Linked DNA regions of Homo sapiens: region 1 is linked to region 2. Evidence: promoter capture Hi-C in human tissues and cell types (Jung and others, 2019). All regions are on one chromosome and are shown on one strand. Each heading gives the region's core, a stretch centred on a gene start or on the middle of the fragment in contact. The rest is flanking DNA. Distances are from core to core; before and after follow the strand shown. Region 1 has its middle 30 kb from the start of TSPEAR. Region 2 holds the start of KRTAP10-6 (keratin associated protein 10-6).

Region 1 (7,070 bases), core at 1,745-4,244, 150 kb before region 2:
TGTCTCGAGGAGGTTGCATGGACTCCTTATCATAGGCTGAATGGTAAGGTGAAGCTGCGGAATTGAGTCCTCCTCCAACAAGGGAGAGAAAAGGATGTCCTGTGACATGCCCTGATAACTGGTGGATATAGTTATGCTTGCTAAGGTCTGGGTGCATGGGGCTTGGCTTTGGTTAGCTCCCTTGGTCTTACTTTCACAAAAAGGAAACCTCCAGGTGATGGGCACTATATTTATTCCCATCACCTGGCAGGATTTGCAGGATCATTGCTCAGAATTAAATATGGATCCAGATTTTTACATTACCCATCCCCTTTTGTTCCTTCTGAGCTGCAGTTGGAGATGGCTGGTTGGTTCACAGGAATAAGCAGGGTTAGTCTAAAATGTAGGCAAAACGCAAAAACAACGAATGAGTCTAGAGTTTAATGACAAACGTATGATAAGTTTTGAAACATAATGTCTCTCTCCAGTCCTCATTTTTAAAAACAAATCATGATAGGACTGAGTTGTTTGCAAAACAGACTTTAGTCTTATACTTGGCCTGATTATTTGCATAAAGAGCAGCAAGCATAATTATTTTAACGTGGGCCTTTTAGATTTACATGGGCTTTGATGGAACTCTGTTTCACAAGGAATGTCAGATAGGCCTTTCTAAAGCTGAGATTGTACCCTCAAATACTTGTAAGCTGGGTAAACAACTCTCTTCTTGAGGTCCCAATAGCATGGAGTTCCTGGACCTGTTAGAAAGTGACATGCTTTACTCACCACAGGTTAGGAACCCTGTATGGGGACTGTGTAGACCAGTTATGAGGCCAGTTTTCCCAAGGGTCTTTTGTTGGCTCTGCAAATCGAGCTTGACTCCTTAAAGGTGAGCATACCCTTCTAGTCAAAGCCTTGGTAAAACAACCAGTTTCTCCAATTGTGTCTTGTTGCAAAAGAAAATGGATTCTTATTGCACTGATGCAAACAACTATATTGTCATAAGTTAAGAATACTTACAACTAGTTTCCAAATCCCGGAGAAGCCAGGCAGAGAGAGAGACAAATATGTTCCAAATTGTGTTCACAGTAGTATACCTTACTTAGTTATTAAAGGCCATAAATAGCTCAAAATGTTTCCTTGACTCTAAAAACAAAAGGATCAGCAATTTTCCAAGCAAAAGTAAAAAATATTACTTCAGTTTTCTATTAGTTCAGTCCTTTCAGTTAACTCTTGTTTTACTTGCTATTTGTGAACATTTCAGCTCTTCATGAGTCTGGTACATTTTTCCTTTATTCTAATGTCACAATCTCCAAAATTATTAGAAACCTGCATTTGAGAGCACCTGGTGAAGTTCTGTAGCTGATTATAAACCATCCTTTGAAGAGGATCAAAACAAGACAACAATTGTCTATGAATAACAAAATGTCCAGGGTAGTTACAGTCAGAAACACAACTGACAAATACATTTGGTTATCTCCATAGTTTACAATAACTTAACAACCTTAATTGTGATCGATAGCATATACTCAGACATTAGAATTTTAGAAATCCCATACAACTTTGGAACATATATTAATATTATTCCCTAAAATATAACCTGAGGAATATTAAAGATCATTTTGGTAATCCCATGTACCTAACTGTGTCAGGTAATCCTGTTTACCTCTCTTCTGGGTGCTCCAGGGGCCCTCTGTGGCATCCAAAAGCCAGGGATCAGGAAAGACAATTTTTGAAACAGGAATTTGATTTTGGGAAGCCTGTCAAATATGTTAGAAGTTTAAAGAGTTGATGTTATGAAATAGAATTCCAGATTTCCATAAGTTATTTATTTCACCAAAATGATGACTCAGACATTTTTTTAAGAAGCAAAAACTTTTTATAACCCTTTACAAATTTTGCTAGATAGCAGATTAGTGTCTTAAGAGAACCCTTTTGGGCTTTTATTTCAATGCTCAATTTATGGAAAAGCCATAAACTAAAGTCACGTGAGCTAAAAGGTACCACAGCTTTTATCTTACCTTTAAAAAATATTTGATCCAAGTGCTTATCCTTCCTTAAGTCAATTAATTAGAGCTCTTTTTTAATAGACATCACACACACAACACATATATAACTACACAGGCAGAAGAAGATTCAGTAGCTATAATATTTTTCATAATTGGATTGTTGGCCTCTGGGTGGAGCCCTTTAAGAGCAAGACTAGGAAAACATGCAGTTTCCAGGCTCTCATAAGCAAATATAGCTGGGAGACAAAAACAGATTTTGAGAGGGATCCATCTGCCTCTAATTCCTGGGGCTCCATGAGGAAATCAGAGGTCTCTCATCTTTCATGTGTGCATTAAGAGTGGCAAGGCAAAATGGAGAAAAATAATTCAGTTGACTGAGAAAAAACCTCTTTCCAGCAAAACAAGATCCAAGAAGAGAAAAACAAAGGCCTTTTAAATATACCTGTAACTTGGATATCCACTTTTAATTAAGCTGAGTGCTCTTTAATAAAATCCTTTTAAATCTCATTACCCAGCTTTAGCCATGCCAAGCGGCCAATATTTCTGGCTTTCAAACTTTTCTGAAGGTTCAGAGAAAGGAAAATCCAAGGCAGTTTGTGGAGGGGAAGGGAATCAACAAATGGCAAAGGTCATGTAGATATCAAACCAGAAAGAACTCATTCCCTAAGCCAGGATTGGACCTGGGCCGCCATTGTAAAATGGTGAAGGCTAAACCAAAGCACTGCCATGTCGCTACAGGTCATGCTCCCAAGGACATAAAACAAGATGGAGGCCTGCAGCAAAGTTTGCTACTGACCATACAGAAAGACATGCAGAGCACACCAGATTGGCTGTAGCTTAAGACCAACTCACAAATCTTTCCTTCCTTCCTTCCTTCCTTCCTTCCTTCCTTCCTTCCTTCCTTCCTTCCTTTCTTTCTTTCTGTCTCTCCTCTCTCTCATCTTTCTCTCTCTTCTCTCTTTCCTTCTTTCTTTCCTTCCTTCTTTCCTTCCCTCCCTCCCTCCCTCCTCCTTCCTTCCTTCCTTCCTTCCTTCCTTTCTTTCTGTCTCTCCTCTCTCTCATCTTTCTCTCTCTTCTCTCTTTCCTTCTTTCTTTCCTTCCTTCTTTCCTTCCCTCCCTCCCTCCCCCTTCCTTCCTTCCTTCCTTCCTTCCTTCCTTCCTTCCCTCCTTCCTTCCTTCCTTCCTTCCTTCCTTCCTAGTTTTTTACTCTTGTTGCCCAGGCTGGAGTGCAGTGGCGCAATCTTAGCTCACTGCAACCTCTGCCTTCTGGGTTCAAGTGATTTTCCTACCTCAGCCTCCTGAGTAGCTGGGATTACAGGTGCGCACCACCATGCCCAGCTAATTTTTTGTATTTTTAGTAGAGACAGGATTTCATCATGTTGGCCAGGCTGGTCTTGAACTCCTGACCTTAGGTGATCCACCCACCTCGACCTCCCAAAGTGCAGGGATTACAGATGTGAGCCACTGCAGCTGGCCTACAAATCCTTTTTCATAATTAAAACTTTACAGAGAAAAACAGTGATAGCTAGGGTTCTGGCCTACTAAAGTGCTTTCTAAAAGGGGGAAAAAAACCCTCTCACTTAAAAGTTAACTCCTGACCTGGTGGAGAAAAGAAAAAAAGCTTAAAGTGCAGGGTTGGAAAGATGCCTTGGGAAAGAACCTCTTATTCTTATACAAATAGTTTCCTCCAACAGGGAGAGAAACTTACTGCTGTTTCTTCCCTAGGGCTTGAATGGAGCTGGACTCCTCAGTCATGGAATGAGGAGACACCATGGACATATGGTGGGGAATGCTGGCCAGCCTGCCACATGCAGCCTTTGAGCTATGCACCCCAGCCCCAGCTGGGAGGGGAGGCCAGGCGGGCGGGGAGTTGCCGCTTGCCCATCTGTCCCAAACAATGAAGGAAAATGCCATAGAAAGTCTGGGTCGGACCGAGGCCGACATTCTTGACCCCTGGGAGTGGCAAGGGTGGGGGCCTGTTTCCTTTACCTTCAGAAGAAGTCTGAGGACAAATAGGCTCAAAAACAAAAGGGAAAAAGATGTTTTGGTCCGCATTTACTCACCTTTGCTCGTGTCCCTGTATGGGCCACCAAAATGATGCAGGATTTTTACTCCTTAGCTCAGCTAAAACCTGGGTTCTTGTCCCATTACCAGGAAAAAATTAGGCACGTGGACATGTTGAAAGGTGAGATTTATTAAAAGAAAGCTCTTGGCAAAAATAAAATGAGGTCCTGCCAACAGGGTCGCACCTCACAGATTGAATTCCAGGCCACCACATACAAGCCGAAGAGGCCAGGCTCCTCCCCGCTGCACAAGGCATGCACTTCCCATGCCTCCACCCCATTCTCCCAGTGCACAGGGGGGCCCCCAGTCCGTTGCAAGCATGTGCAGACAAGACTCTGGGCAGGTTCCCTCATCTACACAAAAGTATCTGATATAAACACTTGTGGGGTGGGCTGGAGATTCTGTGGGGACCCTCACTTACCTGCCTCCTGCATCTGTCATCATTTTGTGATAGAATGAAACTGAGCCCTGCAGAAATTAAAAAGCAAAGAGATAATAATGTCTTGGCCATTAATAAGTCTGGAGCTTAGGATGAGTATTTTGAAAACTGTGCTAAATGTCTTATTTAAGCTAGAATTGGCATTGTGTTGTTGTTCATGTGATCTAAGTCAAGTCAGGACTGATAGGACCGAATGGACAAGTGGAAACATAGCAGCTGGGCAGCAAGAAGAAAGACTTGTGTCCAAATGCAAAGTGACTCTGGATTTATAGTATGCACTACAGTCTACTGCTGTGTAACAAACTGTCCCCAAACAGTAGCTTAAAACAGCCAAATGTATTATGCCACACAGTTTCTAGGAGTCAGGGACTAGAAGCTTAGTTGGTGGTTCTTGTTCAGAACATCTTATGAGGTTGCAGTTAGATGTTGGCTGGGGATGCATCATCTGCAGTGTTTAAAAGGAGTGTCACTTTTAAGAAAGCTTCCTCACAGGGCTGGCAGTCAGTTTGTGCTTTAGTTCTGTACCATATGGCCTGTCCAGCAGGATAGCCTGGACTTTTTTACATGGCAGCTGGGCTCTGAGAGATGGGGGAGAGGAAGAAAGAGAGGGAGAGGGAGTTCTGATGTGTGTCCTTTTCCTTAAAGATTTATTACTGGTCCATCAGAAGGAAATGTGAAACTTCCCACTTCCTCCTCCTTGAGATGCTACAAATATACAACTGACCTTGGGGCTGAGGTGCAGGGGCAGAAGTGGAGCTCTCATGGCCCAGAACAGAGAGGATGCAGAGCGGCATTTCACAGCATGCTGTTTGGGTAACATGATACCCTAGGTCTAGGAGCAATAGATGCATAAATGGATGGCTGGGCAGGTGGATGGACAGAGGGAGGGACACTGAAGCTTGTCCCAGGTGTCTCCTACATGGACTTGGGATCTACACTGCCATCTTTGCTTTCTTCCTACATTGTCATTGCTTGAACAGGACTGCCCCAGGAGAAATGTGTTTTTTGGCAAGTGCAGGGGCTAGAAAAGGAGCAGTTAAGGATAACAGCCACTGTACCCACTCTACCTTCAGAGCACCCTATTGCGGCCTCAACATCCCTTTTTTAATGCCAACTTTTCACTTTACATTTCAAGAAAATAATATGTCTCTTAAAGCTCTTGGGCCTGGATCCTCTGAGGACTGCATGCCCTTGAGAGAGTGGGGCTAGCCCCTGGTTGAAGACCTTTTTTCTAAGGTTGCTATCGATTCACTCCCCTTGCATCTCTTAAGTCTGGTATAGTTGTCCCTCCTTTCTTGCTCCTCTCTCACTGGGATTATTGCCACTGCCTCTGTGGGGATGTATATGGTTTTGGCCTGTCCAGCACCCACTCATCTTTCCCCTGCTAACAGCTGCCTGGCTGGCCTTGGGGCCTATGCCATTCAGGGGACTTGGGGCTCCTGGCTCCAGGACAGGAGAAAGCTTGGAAACATGGTGTATTCCTCTTGATTTCATGTGTGCTGAGTGGAAAGGTAAGGCTCGTCAGGGTTTCCCAGGTCAGAGGCTGACCCCTGTGGAGGACACCAGGCAGCTGCTGCTCAGAGGTCTCTGCAGGAAGGACAGAGAGCCCAATTAGCTGGTGCTTGCCAGACCAAGGCCTTGACTCAGATTGAGTATTTTGAGTAGCGATGCGGGAACATGATTTAGAGTTGCATAGAGTGATGATGACTTCCTCCAATCCATTTCTGCCAGCTGCTGGATTCATACATCCTTCGAAAGATGGTTGTTTGCCATCTTTGCTTCTCTTAATGATCTATCTGGGATCTTGTGTCATGGAAAATGTCCAGATGTATCGTCTTCATTTGAGTGGCTGCATAGTGTCCCTTGAATTGGCATCCCAACCTTTACTCAGTCCCCTCTGTATTGACAGCCAATTTGTTTCCATCTTCTGTTCTTAAACAGCACTGCCATAATATTTTGGTTCTCATGTTGTTATATGTATGTGGAGGTAAATCTGTATATATAAAAAAAAAGTCCCAAACAGGAATCACTGGGTCAGAGGTATTGCCATTTTAAATACTGAGAGATTGCCCCCAAATAAACATGACTTGTACATTCCACCAGGTGCATAAGAGCCATGTTGCCTTTCATAAACAAAGAAAACATTTGGTTCTGGTTCTGCCTTCATGACAGTTTGTGGTGAGCTCTTAAGGCCTCTAATGAGCTTTCTGGTGAATGTCGGCTCCTTTGCGAGCATATCTTGATTGAGAATCTCCTGCACTCTCCTTTTTGGATGCTCTGGCATCCACCAGCATGTTCTCTGCCTGAAACTCCTGTCCCCCTTGTTTTTCCACCCCAAAACCCCTTCTTCAAAACCTGTCTTATGCACCCTGTCTTTCAGGAAGCCCTCCCTGCCACGCCCAGGCTGAGTCTCTTGTCTTCCATGCTCTGAGGTTCTTCCTCCATCTTTGGATTCAAACTCCACTGTTCAAGTGGGCTGTTAGAAGAAGCAGGCTGCCTGTTTAATGGATGAGGGCTGGGCTGAGAGGGGAGACAATTTGGGGGAAATCATTTATTTCCCTCATCCATTTGGAAGAAACTTC
Region 2 (6,099 bases), core at 244-2,743:
AGCCTCTGTAAACCGGCTGGAGCCAGTCCATGGTTGGGGGTCCCTTATCAGGAGGAGGTTCCTGAAGTCAGTCTCCTGCCCAGTCAGAGCTGTGGTCATGGCTGTGGAACGTGGTCAGTTGGCATCTGCTGGTGGATGAGCTGCAGTCGTTTGAACCTTGCTCATCCTCATCGCGGGGCCAGTGCGTGTTTAGCCACTGTAGAAAAACAGCAGCTGTGGCGTGAGAGCAGAGTCCGTCCTCTCAGTGTAGGGCACGCGGCTTGTCCCTTGCCTGGCGCGGCCTGAGGTCCTGTTTGTAATTTGATATCTTATTGCCAGAGTCTGCTCTGTGGGTCTTACGGTCTCTATTTTAACTTTAGTGCTGGGTAGTGGTTGTGTCGAAACCCTAAAGGGAGGGGGTGTAACGAGGCGTGTCTGACCTCCCTTCCTGTCATGGCCAGGAACGCAGTTTTTCGGGGGTCCCCGTGGGCAAGATGGGATCCATTTAGTCAGTTGAGGGGCTTAGGATTTTATGTTTCGTTTACACTGGCAATGGGTTTGCAGTGAGATCAACTTCTCATGGACCCATTTTGTGTCTTCTGTGCGGGTTCTTTGGACAGATGTCCCTTAATTTTAAGGTGGTGACACTAAGAGGCCTGGCACAGGGCTTGGAAGACAGGGCTGGGAAATGGGCCCAGCAGGAGGCTGGGTGGGGGCTGACGGGCAGCCTCGGAGAAGCAGAGCACACAGAGGAGCCACCCCAGGCGGGGACGAGGGCTGCTGACCGCCCGCTGCTCAGCACGGTTACTCTGCAGGTTCAGAACCCAAAACCACAGCCCAGAAGGCTGTCATGCTGTCCAAGCAGGGAGGGGCCAAGCCCACCGTCCTTGCCCTGGAACACACAGGTCCTGCTGCCTCCAAAACACAAAGACGAGGTGGACACGAAACAGGGCCGGAGGTGAAGAGGCTGTGGGGATGAGAAGTCGTCCAGAGCTCAAAGCCAAGAGGTCTGGGCACAGTTACAGCTGCCCCCCACCCCCACCATGCCATGGCCCAGGGCAGGTCAATGAAGGCTCATGGGCCCCAGGTTGTCCCTCAGAAGATGGCCACAGTCCTGTGTCCGGTGATGGGGGAAGGACCACGCTGGATGAGGGGTTTTCACCACAAGGACACTTCCTGAGGCCGGCTTCCTGCAGAGGGACTCTGTGTCCCGGGGCTGCTGGGGCCAGGGGTGGACGATGCCGCGACCTGTGGCTCTCCCAGCTCCCCGAACCCAGCTGGGACCAGGCCCCGCCCAATTCCTGCCGCCAGGGATCCACATGGGATGGGACACAGCCCAGATGTGATGGGAGATTTATGAGCTGGCCCACATCACGGGCGAACAAACACCCCTAATCCCGGCAGACTCCAGCTCTCGGCAACACGGAAGGGGAAGCTGTGGGCCCGGGGACAACAAGGCCAGGTGGAATAAAAGCCCGAGAGCCTCAGCACCTCACAGGCTCACTCCCTCACCCTCCACCAGTTCAACCCCAGCATGGCCGCGTCCACCATGTCCGTCTGCTCCAGCGACCTGAGCTACGGCAGCCGCGTCTGCCTTCCTGGTTCCTGTGACTCTTGCTCCGACTCCTGGCAGGTGGACGACTGCCCAGAGAGCTGCTGTGAGCCCCCCTGCTGCGCCCCGGCCCCCTGCCTGAGCCTGGTCTGCACCCCAGTGAGCCGTGTGTCCAGCCCCTGCTGCCCAGTGACCTGTGAGCCCAGCCCCTGCCAATCAGGCTGCACCAGCTCCTGCACGCCCTCGTGCTGCCAGCAGTCTAGCTGCCAGCTGGCTTGCTGTGCCTCCTCCCCCTGCCAGCAGGCCTGCTGCGTGCCCGTCTGCTGCAAGACTGTCTGCTGCAAGCCTGTGTGCTGTGTGTCCGTCTGCTGTGGGGATTCTTCATGCTGCCAGCAGTCTAGCTGCCAGTCAGCTTGCTGCACCTCCTCCCCCTGCCAGCAGGCCTGCTGTGTGCCCGTCTGCTGCAAGCCTGTCTGCTCTGGGATTTCCTCTTCGTGCTGCCAGCAGTCTAGCTGTGTGAGCTGTGTGTCCAGCCCCTGCTGCCAGGCGGTCTGTGAGCCCAGCCCCTGCCAATCAGGCTGCACCAGCTCCTGCACACCCTCATGCTGCCAGCAGTCTAGCTGCCAGCCAACTTGCTGCACCTCCTCCCCCTGCCAGCAGGCCTGCTGCGTGCCCGTCTGCTGCGTGCCTGTGTGCTGTGTGCCCACCTGCTCTGAGGATTCCTCTTCATGCTGCCAGCAGTCTAGCTGCCAGCCAGCTTGCTGCACCTCCTCCCCCTGCCAGCACGCCTGCTGTGTGCCCGTCTGCTCTGGGGCTTCCACATCATGCTGCCAGCAGTCTAGCTGCCAGCCGGCTTGCTGCACCGCCTCCTGCTGCAGATCCTCCTCCTCCGTGTCCCTCCTCTGCCACCCTGTGTGCAAGTCCACCTGCTGCGTGCCCGTCCCCTCCTGTGGTGCCTCTGCCTCCTCCTGCCAGCCCAGCTGCTGCCGCACGGCCTCCTGTGTTTCCCTCCTCTGCCGCCCCATGTGCTCCCGCCCTGCCTGCTACAGCCTCTGCTCTGGCCAGAAGTCCAGCTGCTGACAGCCCTGGATGTGATCCGGAGTCCCTTCCCACCAGGGGCTGACCTCCCAGCTGCCCCAGCAAGCTCTGCCCTCTCTGGCTTTGACACCCTCAGAAGATGGGGCAGGCTCTTTGTCTTAGGGACCAGGATGCTCCCCCTGTCCTTCCCAGATGCTGGCTGCATGAGAGACCCCAGCTACTCCCCCAGACCCAAGTTCTGCAGAACTAACCCCCAGCAGGCCTGGTTCCACCCTGGGCAGCACCCCCTCTAGTTCTAATAAAGCCGCCTCTGTCTCACACCAACCTCTGTCCTGTCTGTGGACCCCCGGGGGGCACAGGGTGAGGTGGGAAGTGATGCCACCCCTGACTGCAGGGAGAGTCCTGACCCCCAGCAGGCCTGGCTCCACCCCTCTGTCTCTGTCGACTTTTCATCCTGTCTGTGGACCCCCGAGGGGCATGGGATGAGGCAGGAAGCAATGCCTTCTGGTGCTGGCCTCTGTGAACCCTGAAGGCCAGTCTCCCTCTTAGCCCCGTGGGCCCCCAACCCCAGCACATGGCCCCCCGGCCCATCTTAGGAAAGCTGCCTCTGGAACCAAGGCCAGGAGTTTCGGGACAAAGTGGACCCTGGCAGCACTCTGGGCCCCTGAGCCACATTCACCCTCCCCAGCTCATGGCTGCCCCCCAGGACTGGGGTAGCCCACCCGGGGCCTAGCTCCAGCCAGCAGCCTCACCCCTCCTGTTACCCCTGGGGAGACCAGCTATGGACCACAGTGCCCATCCCTGCAGCCCTCATCTCCTCCACAGTAAGACATGGGGACCACGCCCTCCCCCAGGACTCGAGCCCAGCAGCCCAGTATTCGTGGGGTTCTGGAATACCCATTGCTCAGGCATCGCTGGCGAGAACACAGATGGGCAGGGACCATGGCACCCACTAACCAAGCCTGCGGGCCCCCCTGCCCCATGCGGCCTCGCCTAGACTTTCAGGGTCCTGGCTCCCTCCTGGTCCTGTGGTCCTGGACTCTGACCCCGAGGACCCTGTCCCCACACCCCCAGCCTCCTAGGTCTCTCCAAATAGCCCTCAGCTCTGTCTGCCACCCTCCGCTCTGGCACTCAGACGTGGTCCACGATACCGCGTTGGGCGAGTGGTACGAGCCGCTGCACTCTTTCTGCCAGGTCGCTGTGTGCATTTGAGAGCCCAGGTCTGCCTCCTGCCCCAGCAAATGACCCTTGCATGTCAACGCCAGAGGCGACCAGCACCAGCAGGAGGACCTCCCGGAGTCCCACCCCATGGAGCTCCCTGTGGTCAGCACAGCCGCCTCGCTCACTCCCCTCCAGGCAGACCCAGGACAGCCAGCAGCAGCCGTCCCCAGGGCCGGAGGCCAAACTGACACAGCCTTGTCCACCTCCTTGGAAGCAAAGCCACGTCCCCATGAAGGGACAAATGAGAGCCTCCAGGGGCAGAGATGTTTTCTTCCTGCCCTGGTTCTCCGGGTAGCTGGCAGGGGCCGAGCCTTCATCCTAGGGCTCCAGGACCATCCTGGGGAGGGGCTCCCCACACATGCGTGTCTGAGCCCCACCCACCTCACTATGCCCACTGATGGCTACAAGGTCAGAACAGAGAGCCAGGTGGAGGGGCCGGGGCTGGCTCTCTGACCTCCTCCATGTTTGTCATTGTCCCCACCTGCCCTCGTCCGAGGCACCGACAGGACCCAGCCTGTCTGGCCATCCCCAGGGAGGACATCTCCTGGTGGGGGGGTCTCACCTCTGACCCCTGCTCTGGGTCCTCATTCGATGTGTCTTCTGCTTCATCAGAGCTTCAACTCCTAGTGAAAGCACCTTGGAAAACCGTCCCTCAAAATGGTCACTCACAAAGTGACCCTGTGATCCTGCCACTCCAGTTCTAGGCATCTACCTCAGAGGAATGAAACAAATGTCCACACACAGATTTGTGCGCCCATGTACACAGCATGACTGACAGCAGCCAGAGACTGGTGTACCCATGTACACAGCATGACTGACAACAGCCAAGAAGTGGAAGAAGCCTAAATGTCCATCAGAGGACAAAGCAAAACACAGCCCATCCACACAAGCAAAATGTGGCCCATTCCCGTGGGGAATATTATTCAGCCATGAAAAGGAATCCAATACTGACACAGGCTACAACATGCATGAGCCTTGAAAGCATGATGCTTAGTGAGAGCCCACATGTGGTGACATTCTATTTTGGTTTTTTATTTTTTATTTTTATTTTATATTTTATTTAGGTTATTGGGGAATAGGTGGTGTTTGGTTACATGGATTAGTAATTTAGTGTTGATTTGTGAGATTTTGGTGCACCCATCATTCGAGCAGTATACACTGCACCCTATTTGTAGTTTTTTATCCATCACCCCCTTCCCGCCCTTTCCCTCTCAGTCCCCAAAGTCCATTGTGTCATTCTTATGCCTTTGTATCCTCATAGCTTAGCTTCCACTTATGAGTGAGAACATATGATGTTTGGTTTTCCATTCCTGAGTTACTTCACTTAGAATAATAATCTCCAATCTCATCCAGGTCTCTGTGAATGCCATTAATTCATTTCTTTTTATTACTGAGTAGTATTCCATCATATATATATATACACACACACATACATATATATACACACATACATATATATAACATATATATACATATATACACACACATATATATCAGTTTATATATATAAATATATAAATAAATATATATATATTATATATATAAAAGTTTCTTTATCCACTCGTTGATTGATGGGAATTTGGGTTGGTTCCACATTTTTGCAATTGCGAATTGTGCTGCTATAAACATGCGTGAGCAAGTATCTTTTTTGTATAATGACGTCTTTTCCTCCGGGTAGATACCCAGTAGTGGATTTGCTGGATCAAATGGTGGATCTACTTTTAGTTCTTTAAGGAATCTCCACACTGTATTCCACAGTGGTTGTACTAGTTTACATTCCCACCAGGAGTGTAGAAGTCTTCCCTGTTCACCACATCTGTGCCAGCATCTATTATTTTTTGATTTTTTGATGATGGCCATTCTTGCAGGAGTGAGGTGGTATCCCATTGTGGTTTTGATTTGCATTTCCTTCATCATTAGTGATGTTAAGCATTTTTTCCTATGTTTGTTGGCCATTTGTATATCTTCTTTTGAGAATTGTCCATTCATGTCCTTAGCCCACTTTTTGATGGGATTGTTTGGTTTTTTTCTTTATAATTTGTTTGAGTTTGTTGTAGGTTCTGGATATTAGTCCTTTGTCAGATGTACAGATTGTGAAGATTTTCTCCCACTGTGTGGGTTGTCTGTTTACTCTGCTGACTGTTTCTTTTGCCATGCAAAAGCTCTTTAGTTTAATTAAGTCCCAGCTATTTATCTCTGTTTTTATTGCATTTGCTTTTGGATTCTTGGTCATGAAATCCTTGCCTAAGCCAATATCTAGAAGGGATTTTTCATGTTATTTTCTAGAATTCTAATAGTTTCAGGTCTTA

Evidence for each region. Contacts are between HindIII fragments. The study calls those that stand out against the background at their distance.
Region 1: a fragment that was not itself captured here is called in contact with the fragment with the promoter of KRTAP10-6 in region 2 in 5 of the 25 tissues and cell types used here (dorsolateral prefrontal cortex, lymphoblastoid cells, mesenchymal stem cells and 2 more).

What each region holds. Positions count from the first base shown.
Region 1 is chr21:44,737,713-44,744,782 of GRCh38, reverse strand. No RefSeq gene overlaps it. Among named protein-coding and RNA genes, the nearest start is that of TSPEAR, 30 kb to the right of the region's middle. The HindIII fragment of the contact is 5,348 bases long and covers 321-5,668 here.
Region 2 is chr21:44,587,899-44,593,997 of GRCh38, reverse strand. KRTAP10-6 (keratin associated protein 10-6) reads left to right here and starts at 1,493. Exons shown (of 1, transcript NM_198688.3): 1 at 1,493-2,730. The coding sequence starts at 1,514. The coding sequence ends at 2,611. The region is part of intron 1 of TSPEAR (thrombospondin type laminin G domain and EAR repeats); the gene reads left to right. RefSeq lists enhancers at 406-1,152, 1,153-1,898, 1,899-2,646, 3,619-4,439. The HindIII fragment of the contact is 10,619 bases long and covers 1-6,099 here.